2 separate regions of the Homo sapiens genome follow, and region 1 is linked to region 2. The links are contacts of gene promoters, found by promoter capture Hi-C in blood cells and fetal thymus (Javierre and others, 2016). All regions are on one chromosome and are shown on one strand. The core of a region is centred on a gene start or on the middle of the fragment in contact, and the rest is flanking DNA. Distances in the headings are between cores, read along the strand shown.

What was found. Contacts are between HindIII fragments. The CHiCAGO score rates a contact against its expected background, and 5 or more counts as called.
Region 1: a fragment that was not itself captured here is called in contact with the fragment with the promoter of GNRHR in region 2 in 1 of 17 cell types (total B cells); the score reaches 6.0 in total B cells.

Annotation. Positions count from the first base shown.
Region 1 is chr4:67,509,557-67,514,532 of GRCh38, forward strand. It overlaps CENPC (centromere protein C), which reads right to left. Exons shown (of 19, transcript NM_001812.4): 8 at 4,518-4,976; 9 at 2,846-3,013. Among named protein-coding and RNA genes, the nearest start is that of CENPC, 33 kb to the right of the region's middle. The HindIII fragment of the contact is 2,888 bases long and covers 2,283-4,976 here.
Region 2 is chr4:67,750,785-67,755,695 of GRCh38, forward strand. GNRHR (gonadotropin releasing hormone receptor) reads right to left here and starts at 3,604. Exons shown (of 3, transcript NM_000406.3): 1 at 3,030-3,604. The coding sequence starts at 3,551. The HindIII fragment of the contact is 5,914 bases long and covers 3,187-4,911 here.

The DNA.
Region 1 (4,976 bases), core at 2,477-4,976, 240 kb before region 2:
TCCTATCTTAATGAAAAATACAACTACCTATTCTATCCAGATATCTAAATCAGAAATTTGAGTCATGCAAGACTACTACTCCTATCCACAATCACGCCCTAAATCCCATCAATTCTACTTTATTAATGCCTTTCAAATCTTTCAAGCTCTCCCTCCTGTCATTAGTAGAAGTCCTCATTATTTCATATCTGGATTATTAAAACAGTCTCTTTACTAATCTCCCCCTCCCTAGCCTTGTTTTTCTTCAATCCATTCCCTACACTGCTGCAAGAATCACCTTTGGAAAACAAAAACTGGATCATTACAACTCTGCTTAATTAAAGTATTTTAGTTATTATCTATAGCTTCAGGATGAAGTCCAAATACTTCAACATCAATTCATATCTACATCTAGATTTGCTTATTTCATAAACCACAATTCCCAAAACCCCCCTCCAAACAAACAAACCAAAAAAAGCCATCAGTAATGAACAATCTACAGTTTCTCTAAAGCACTGGTTGTCCAAAGGCAGTCTCTAGACCAGCAAGATCAGCATTATCTGGGAATTTGAAATGTAAATTATCATGCCTCACCTCAGACCCCAGTGAATCAAAGACTTTGCAGAGCAGGGCCCAGTAACCTGTGCCTTAATAGGCCCCCCAGACAATTCTAAAGCACACTAAATTAAAGAAAGAAAAGATCAAGCTCTCTGCTCCAGATCTCTGCACAAGCTACTTCTACTTAAAACATTCCATAACTTCCTCCTTACTCCACTCAATCACTTAGCTAACTCCTAGTTCATCCTTCAGGAAGCTTTCCCTAATTTCCAAGTCTTAGGTAGCTTGCTATCACACATACGACTGTTTACTTATCTCTACTTCTCTCCTCCAGCAGACTAACAACTCCTTGACCTCAAGTAATTGATTGGTATTTTATCTATGTATATTCCCAATGCCTAATGACAGGGGCAGGACTATGGTGAAGCAAGAGTAGCCTCAGCTGGAAAATTCAAGAAGGTACTCATTTTCAGGTCTGTGCAAGTACAGAGCCCGAACTGATACAATCCTGTGACTGACTGCCTTAAATTTTTCACCCTAGTGTCTCATTGTCTTACCCTAGTCCTGGTCCTACTTTACCTCATTCCTGCCCCATGGCAAGTACTCCATATACATTTCTTCATATATATGGAAGGGCAACAGTGTCACACGTACGACAGGCAGGCTGGGGGCAGGTCAAGTTGTTCTTCTTAACTTCAGACTTCAGTTTCTTCTTCCATCAGATGAGAGTTTAGACTATATGATATATAAAGATTCCTCCACTTTTTCGACTCCCAGCTTGATCAAAAATCCAACATCTATTTCAGGACTCTTAAATAAGTGTTTTTTGATAGTTTCAGAGATCTAGCACATTTATCCAAGTTCTGTAAGAATTTATTTACCCATCTGTTTATGTATTCATCTGCCACATAGTACTTAGCATTTCAGGCAACCTGGGGCAGAAAAGTGAGTTCCCCAAAGCAGTAACAGTATTATTTAACACTTCAATACTAACATATGCCACCTACTATGCTAATTGCATTTAAACCTTATAAAAACTCAATGAGGTAATCATGTTACAGAATGAGAAACTAAACAAAGCAATCTACTCAAAGTGGAAGAGTGATACTTTGAACTCAGATCTCACTCCAAAATCCAAAGGCTGCAACAAAATAAATACTTGCTGCTATCCATCAAGAATCTCAATGATTTAATAATTCATAGCAATAAGGCCTCACATATACAATGCCATAGTTGTACTAATCATTCACTTATTAATCTAAATGCCCCAAAGTCAATAGTATTTGTGTATGTGAATGCTACCTTATGATCCACCAATCTTTTCAGGATCACTTTCTTTAAAAAGGGACAATTCTCCCAAAACAATAAATGTTTCATATTGTGCAGAAAAAAGTTAGCAAAGCAGGTCTGAGTATACTACCCTTAAAAGGGCCTGCTTTCAAAGTTAGCCCTGTAAACTTAAATTTCAGGATTGTTCCCGTCATTTCCTAATTGGCAAACGTGGTGTTGTGGGCCTAAACTGCTTATGCAAAAAATATGGTTTAGGCAAATATTGCCTTCCTTCAGGGAGTCTGGAATTGTAGTACTTGCTAGATAGAGAGTACCTATGTGACCACCCCCAGGAAAGATCTTGGGCACTAAGTCTCTAGTGAGCTTCCCTAATAGACATTTTGCCTATTTGTCACAACTCATTGCTAGAGGAATTAAGCAGCTCCTGTGGGAATCCACTGGGAAAGGACTCTTTAAGCTTCTGCTGATTTCCTCCAGACTTAACCCATGCACTTTTTTTCTACTGAATTTGCACTGCATCCTTTCACTGTAATGAATCACAGCCATGAGTACAACTATATGCCCAGTCCTCCTAGCAAATTACCAAATCTGAGGGTAGTCTTGGGAACCTCCAACACAAGTAATTTACTTTTTTATGTGTAATAAACTATAATCTTTTAGATTATAAACTCCTTGGTGGCAGAACCTCATATTATCAATCTTTGTATCCCTCACAGCCAGGACATTAAAATAGCTGGATTATTTATATTGCCTTTCCCAACTAGAATGCAAGCTCCATGAAAGCAGGGATTTCTGGTTTGGGGTTTTGTTTTCCCACAGCTATTATCCCTATTCCTAAAATACTGTATATATTAACGCTTCAAGGAATATCTTTACCATTGATTTAATATTCCTTTTGATGACCCAATTTAACTTGGTCCTCATGATATTCTCTATATAGAAATATAAAATCAAACATAATGCCCCTTACAGAATGATTTTGTCTATGAACAAACACAATTTAAATAAAAATACTTACTCTCCTCTGATTTTACCACCCACCAATCAGATGGACGCCTGGAAATTCTTCGACTTTTCGTGACAGTTGAAGTCACTTCTTCAGGTACAAGTTTGTTCTTGGACTCACTGGAAAAGCGCTTCTTTTTAGATTCTTCCTTATCTTTTCTAGTGCTACTTTTCTTGCTTCCTAAAATAAAGAAAACCATAAAACCAATTCACAATCTACTAAAAGAGTTTTCAGAAAACCACAAGATTATAAAAAAACCGTCAATTACAGGAACTTCTTAAATTTATCCTGTGGCCTTTTCATCTCCATTTTTAAAAGTCACATGTTCTCTTTCTGTCAATTATATGTGCTGCTGAAGTAAGCACTAACTTCCTATTAAATGCAAATTTTCACACTGCTTGATAACTCTTATATACTCCTCAGCCAAAAAAATAAGTATCTTCTGAAACTGAAAAAAAAATACAGTTCCTTCCTATAACGTCCTAAGTAAAAGTAGGCAATTACTGCTTTCCTGTTTTGAAATAATGATTTTTTTCAACTTAAGAAGAGGAGATTTAAAGTGTGATTAAATTATAAACTCTGAAATAGAGGCATTATCTTGGATCATCCAGGTTGACCCAATCTAATTATGTTTCTTTTAAAAGCTGTGGTCAGAGAGATGAGATGATGGAAGAAGAGGCAAGATAAATTCACAACATGAGAAGGCTGGTATTGCTAGTTTTGCAGATGGTGGAGGAGGACCATGAGTCAAGGAATATAGGTAGTTTCAAGAGGGTGGAAAAGGCAAAGAAACAGACTTCCTCCCAGAGCTACCAGAAAGAAAGAAAACCCCACCAATACCTTGATTTTATCCCAGTGAGACATCTGACCCACAGAACTGTAAGATAATCAATGTTTGTTGTTTTAAGCCAATAAGTGTGTAGTAACTTGTCATATGACAGCAATAGAAAATTAATACAACTGATATGGTAATTAATGAGCATTATATTCACTAACCAATCTAGATACAGAATATATGTAAAAATTAGTGTGTAGAATATAGCAGGTACTCAGAAAATGTTTAATATTTACAATTATAGAGCGCATCTTTCAAGTATACTTCCTTCATATGTCTTTTCCTAAGAAATTATGGATAAATCAAAATTTTGTATCCTTCCTTTTAATCCTATGCATGTATGTATATTATCTATTATTCTACAGAACCCACCAGAATGATCTTGTTAACAGTAGAAATAATGGGTTAGTAATTTTTGTGATTACAGTGCCTAATGCAGTGTATGGCATTCAACAACTGTTAGACACATGAGTGAATGATGGAAGAGAATGGACTTTTATCTCTATAAAAAATAGTCCCACGGTACCCTGGGATTTTTTTTAACATTTTTATTTTCTAAATAATTTATCATTCTGTCTTATTCATCTTCCGATACTAACTTGTTTACTAGCCTTTTCTTTTCACTTTGCCCTCTATATATACTGCCATCTCACAAGATAAACAAAAACTATATGAGTTAGAATTAAATTATATATAAAATAAAAAGGTTCTAGAAAAGAACCTATAGGCTTTTCAGGCTCTTTGTTCATTTAGGTTTACTTTGCCTACTTGCCAAAGCTAAGTTAGGATATTAAAAAACATAAAATGGGTAGAATAATGCTCATGGTTATATTTAATATAAACACTTACCCACAGGTGGCATCTGTTTTTTGGAAACACAATCATTTCCCATCTCTTCATGCTCTTCCATATTTCTGTCTGAATTTCTTTGAAATTCGTCTTGGGTAATATGTGATGTATGTATGTTTTCATCTTTAGACTGTCCCACATCAAGCTGTTCTTCAGCTGGTTTAGCCATGAATTTTCTTCTCTGTTTTTGTTTTATAGTCCTTTTGCTTCTAGATGGTTTTTCTGCATTCTTGGAATACATTTCATATTTTGTAGATCTATAATTATTTACTGTTTCACCTATCAAAGCATAACTTGTATCCAGTACTGTTTTATCAGAGGGCTGAGATGTCTCTACTGGGTGAGGTTTATGGGAATGTTTGTCATTTGCCAAAGTCTTAGGTAATATATTATGATGCTTTTCTCTTGACTTTCTACCTTGAAGGAGTGCAGTGCTCTCAGCCGGGGATATTGTGCGTT
Region 2 (4,911 bases), core at 2,354-4,853:
CCCTTTTAATGTAAATTAGGCACAATAGGACGTGCCTTTGTCAATTACATTTTTTATAATTGACCACAGAGCATGGTGAAGCATGAGACACACTCATCATGCATCACAGTCTAGAAATAAAAAGCCCTCTTTCTCTCTCATGTTCCTCATCAAATATATGTAACATTAGTTATGGGATTGAAATTTCTTTTATTCAGAGAAATTGAAGAGAGCCATAATAAAAGGAAAGAATAAGACAACACGAGTCCAACAGAGCACGTGACACTGGGAATGCTAATGAATCCTTTTAAATCAGTGCTTTTTGAACTGCAGGATATGCTCAGCAATGAGTTGTAATCAACAGTAAAAAATAAAATGTAACAGAATAGAATATTTATTTCATCAAAATTTTTTCTCAGTTATATGTGTGAGAGAAAGAGACAGAGACACAAACAAGGTTTCAGTGTAGTGTGTATTTCTTACTTTGGATTATTGCAAAAGGATTTGAATGCCATTGTCTTCATAGGTTTAGACCTTAGCTCTCTTATATATGAAATAGGGATAATAACACAGCTCCTATTTACCTTATAGAGTTAACGTAAATATCAGCATTACTTATGTGAGGTTATTCAGGAAACTTCAGCAAAGTGCTTTAAAGTGTTGTTGAAAGTAAGGATGAGTCATGTGTTTTACAAAATAAAATAACACCATTTTCTGTGGCTCACATTCACATAAATCTCTCTAGTAATGTATTTGAGGTCAGACTATTACATGAAATTCCTAAACAATTCAAAGTTAAGTTCCTATTTTCTTTTTGCTACATCAAGTTAGATAAATATTTGGCATTATCTTTCTATTATTGCTGTTAATACTTAGATGAAAATAATTGGATTGATAAAGCAATATTTTATTTATAGCTTCTAGGAGACTTCTTCTAAGAAGAATCAAATCGTGAGTTTGCCCTTCAGTTATTATTGCAGATAGGATTATTTCTACTTTGGTTTGGATTTTAATCTACATCAGCACCTCAAATTACCAACTACTTTACACATAGTTGTAATTACACAGATCTTATATTGCCAACAGTCATGTCCTAAAGCAAATGATTTTACTTCTCATAGCCTGCCTTCCCTCTCCCTTCTACAAACAAACAGGCAGACAAACAAACACTCCCCTTCCCACCGGATCATTTCAATGGTTTTACTATTTTAATTCCTAGGCTAAAAAAATTGGAACTTTATTTCCCCCTGCTCTATTATTAACTCTCTCAATCCAATTTGTTGTCAGGTTTTGTATTTTATTTGAAATGTCTCTTTTACTATCTATTCTCTTTGATACCACCCTAGCCCCCTGATCACCTCATTGCCAGATGATTTTTAAAAAAGTCTTTGTTTTATTCCACTCCATTTGGGCCATTTGGGCCTACATAAATTTTCCCAAAGCCTTTTTTTTTTCTTTTTTGAGACAGGTTCTCATTCTGTCACCGAGATTGCAGTGCAGTTGCAGTGATGCATCATGGCTCTCTGCAACCTCTGCCTCCCAGGCTCAAGCGATTCTCCCACCTCAGCCTCCCAAGTAGCTGGGACCACAGGTGCGGGTCATCATGACCAGCATTTAAGCAATTTTTTTTTTAATAATTTGTTGATATGGGGCCTCCCTATATTGCCCAGTCTGGTCTCGAACTCCTGGGCTCAAGTGATCCTCCCACCACAACCTCCCTCCCAACCTCCCAGGTAACTTGGACCATAGGTGCAAAAGTGGAAAGAAAGAATGTGGAAAATTTTAAGAGCATAAGCCTTAGCTAAATCACCTCATTTCAGGTGATATATTTGCTAAACTTATTCTTATGTATTGCATCACTGTGAAATAAATCATATATTTTTCTTCAGAAAATGAAAACATTTTAGTTTTTCCCATTATTCTTATTATGAAACACACACATATTCAAAAGAAATATTAAAGTGAGAAATTGATGGGATAAAACAGTTATCCAGCTTTCTAGTGTCTTGTGCTATATAGTGAGTTCTGCATGGCAGTTTTTTTTTGTTGTTGTTGTTTTTTAACCATCTGGTCAGTAAAAAAAAGTCTAGATAAATTTCCATTTTCAGAGGCAAGTTTTGGAGGATCCTAGTTAATTCTGATTTATTTCTTGACACATCCTTGTATCCTGGGTTTATCATGTAGTACATTTAAATGCAAGAGAAAACTTGTTCATCTGCTATTAACATTCTTTGTTATTTTCAAGAATTTGTCCTTTTCTTCGGGGATCTGATTGTTAAAATGGCAGGTTCAGCAGGTCAGTTAACTAGGCTGCTTCTGGTGAAGGCAACCTGGAAAGATAATTGCCCTCTGTGGGGAGGGCCTGTGCCTACTCTGTCAGTCATATGGCTTTCTCAATAAGCTGCCTCCAGCAAAACTCAAGCTAACTTTAGGGAAATATTTGGATTTCCAAACATCCAAGATGTCTTACTTTTCTTCTATATTCAGTCCCACTTAGCTGCAAACTGCAGAGCAACATACTAACAAAGAATAATTCTCTCTAAGCTGCAGTGACAGAATTCTTAAAATTTCCACTGAAGAAACCCTAAATAAGAAACATTATAAATATTTTCTACCTAGGCAAATTTCATAATTCCTAAAAATTATCTCAACTAAACATTAAAGCCATGTCAACCAAAACAAAAAGAAAAACAGATAAAAGAATAGGATGGAGATAAGGTCAAGTTTGAGAATCGCATTTTTTTTGGGGAAGCATTTGCTACATAATAGAGATTATGTGAGCTACTTTATTTATTTATTCATCACAAAAGCAGTATTAAGTAAGCATTAACCCCCATGTTACATTTTATCGGTAAAGGAACTGAAACCAGAGAGGTTAAGAAGTTTGCCCAAGGTAACAGAACAGAGCCAGAATTAAACTTCACTCTCTGACTTCCAGAACCCAAGCTCTTAAAGGTAATACAGTACTTCCTTTGATAAGACCTTATATCAAATTTAGATAGGAAATCTATGATCACCATATCCAAATAAGTTTGTGTATAATGGCTTACCTGTGGTCCTGCAAAGACACTACTGAGGATCCAGGCCAGGCCAACCATGGACTGTCCGACTTTGCTGTTGCTTTTCAAAGCTAGGGGCCTCGTGATAGCCAGGGAGCGGTCCAGGCTGATCACCACCATCATGAAGGCTGGGGCATACATGGAGAAAAGCTTTAGATAACTGAGAACTTTGCAGAGTAACTCTCCAGCATACCATTGGACTGTAATGTTCCACATCCCATCCAGTGGCATGACAATCAGAGTCTCCAACAGGTTGGCTAAGGTCAGATGTTTTAAGAGCAGCTTCATTCTTGAGAGCTTTTTCCCTTTCTCTTTCTTCTGTGTCCACTTCTGAAGTTTCAACAAGAAAGAAGCATTAAAGGTCGCAGAGAGCAGAAAAAGGAAGAAAGTAACCGTCACTCGGATCTTTCCAGACAAGGTCAGAGTGGGGAGGTTGCCCTGCATCAGTGGGATGCTGTTGTTGATGGCTGAACAGTGATTTTGATTCTGTTCAGGAGAGGCACTGTTTGCCATATTTTCCCAGGACAGAGCTTCAAGCCTTGTGTCTCTGGTGCATCTGATATTTTATTGTAACCGAATCTAAAGTCCTGTTTTATTTCTGCCTTCTTTAGATGGAAACGTCACAGGTTTAGACGTATGTCAAATTTTGTCCCTGAGATACTTAATGTGAAAGATCAAGGTTAACTTGTTTTGTGTATTGGTAATCCAACAGAGTGCTAAAACAGAGCAGGCCAAATGCATTCTGAGGGCCACATGTAACTGTAGCACCTCAGCAGATGGTCTGGCTTTCACAACACTCTTCCTAAGTGAAGAAGGATAGTCACAGCCTAATTTTGAATTTAAAAGTCAGTCATGATATTATGATTTAAATAACTTTAAAAAATTTTTCTAAAAACTATTTAGTGTTAGTGTTCTGTCCAACATACAGATGTATAATGATAATGAAGAAAAATGAAAACAACTAGATCCAATTAAAATCCATTGTCTTAAGGAATTAACACATTTCTCAAAAACATTTCTTTGTTTTCCTTTTCAAACACACTGTTGAGCACTCGAACACTGGACAAATATATTCACTTAAAATTATTCTACAACAAATTAAAACTTTAAATTAGAATCAATCCAACTGACTGCATTCAAATTTATTAATCAATCTTACTGATCCAATCCATGCTTAAGTTAGAGTAAAACGGTTAATCAGTTTTTAAATTATTGCCTTGGTTTTTATAATTATCTAAATATTGTAGTTGCTGTTATTACACATTAATGCATAAGGAAACTAGTTATTGAAGAGAATACTGTGTAACTGCTGTAAGTGCATTTATATGTGTTTATGTTAGTATAATATGAATATGTTCTTTTATAGGTTATCTGATCATTTCAAATTGGGACCACTTAGGAACTTTTTCTGTGTTGTTTCTTTAACTTTCATGGTGAGTGCTGGATAGTTATTCATCAATACTGGTAAGACTTACATTGGAATTTATTAAATCACCAGCTTGATTTGTCTAATGCCAACAAGTTTGCTTCTGCAGCAGCCAAAGCAGGTACAATGTTAAGGATAAAAGTGGCTATTTTGACTTAGATGGTGCATTCTTATTGGTTCATTTATTATACTTGTTTATTCTGTCTTAAATATTTATTTATTTAATAAATAGTTACTAAATATTTACTATATACATTATCTTAGCCTTTGCTGGTGATAAAAAGTGAACACAACATCATCCAGCCCCTTTAAGGAGCTTGTTACCACAGAAGGTTAGATAAATGTTTTAGATATATCTTATGTATCTCCTCAGCTTCTCTGTGTACTGGCTGTCTCCTGAATCTTGAGCAGCTTAGACCAGTCCTGTACCTGAGCTCCTTTTTGACT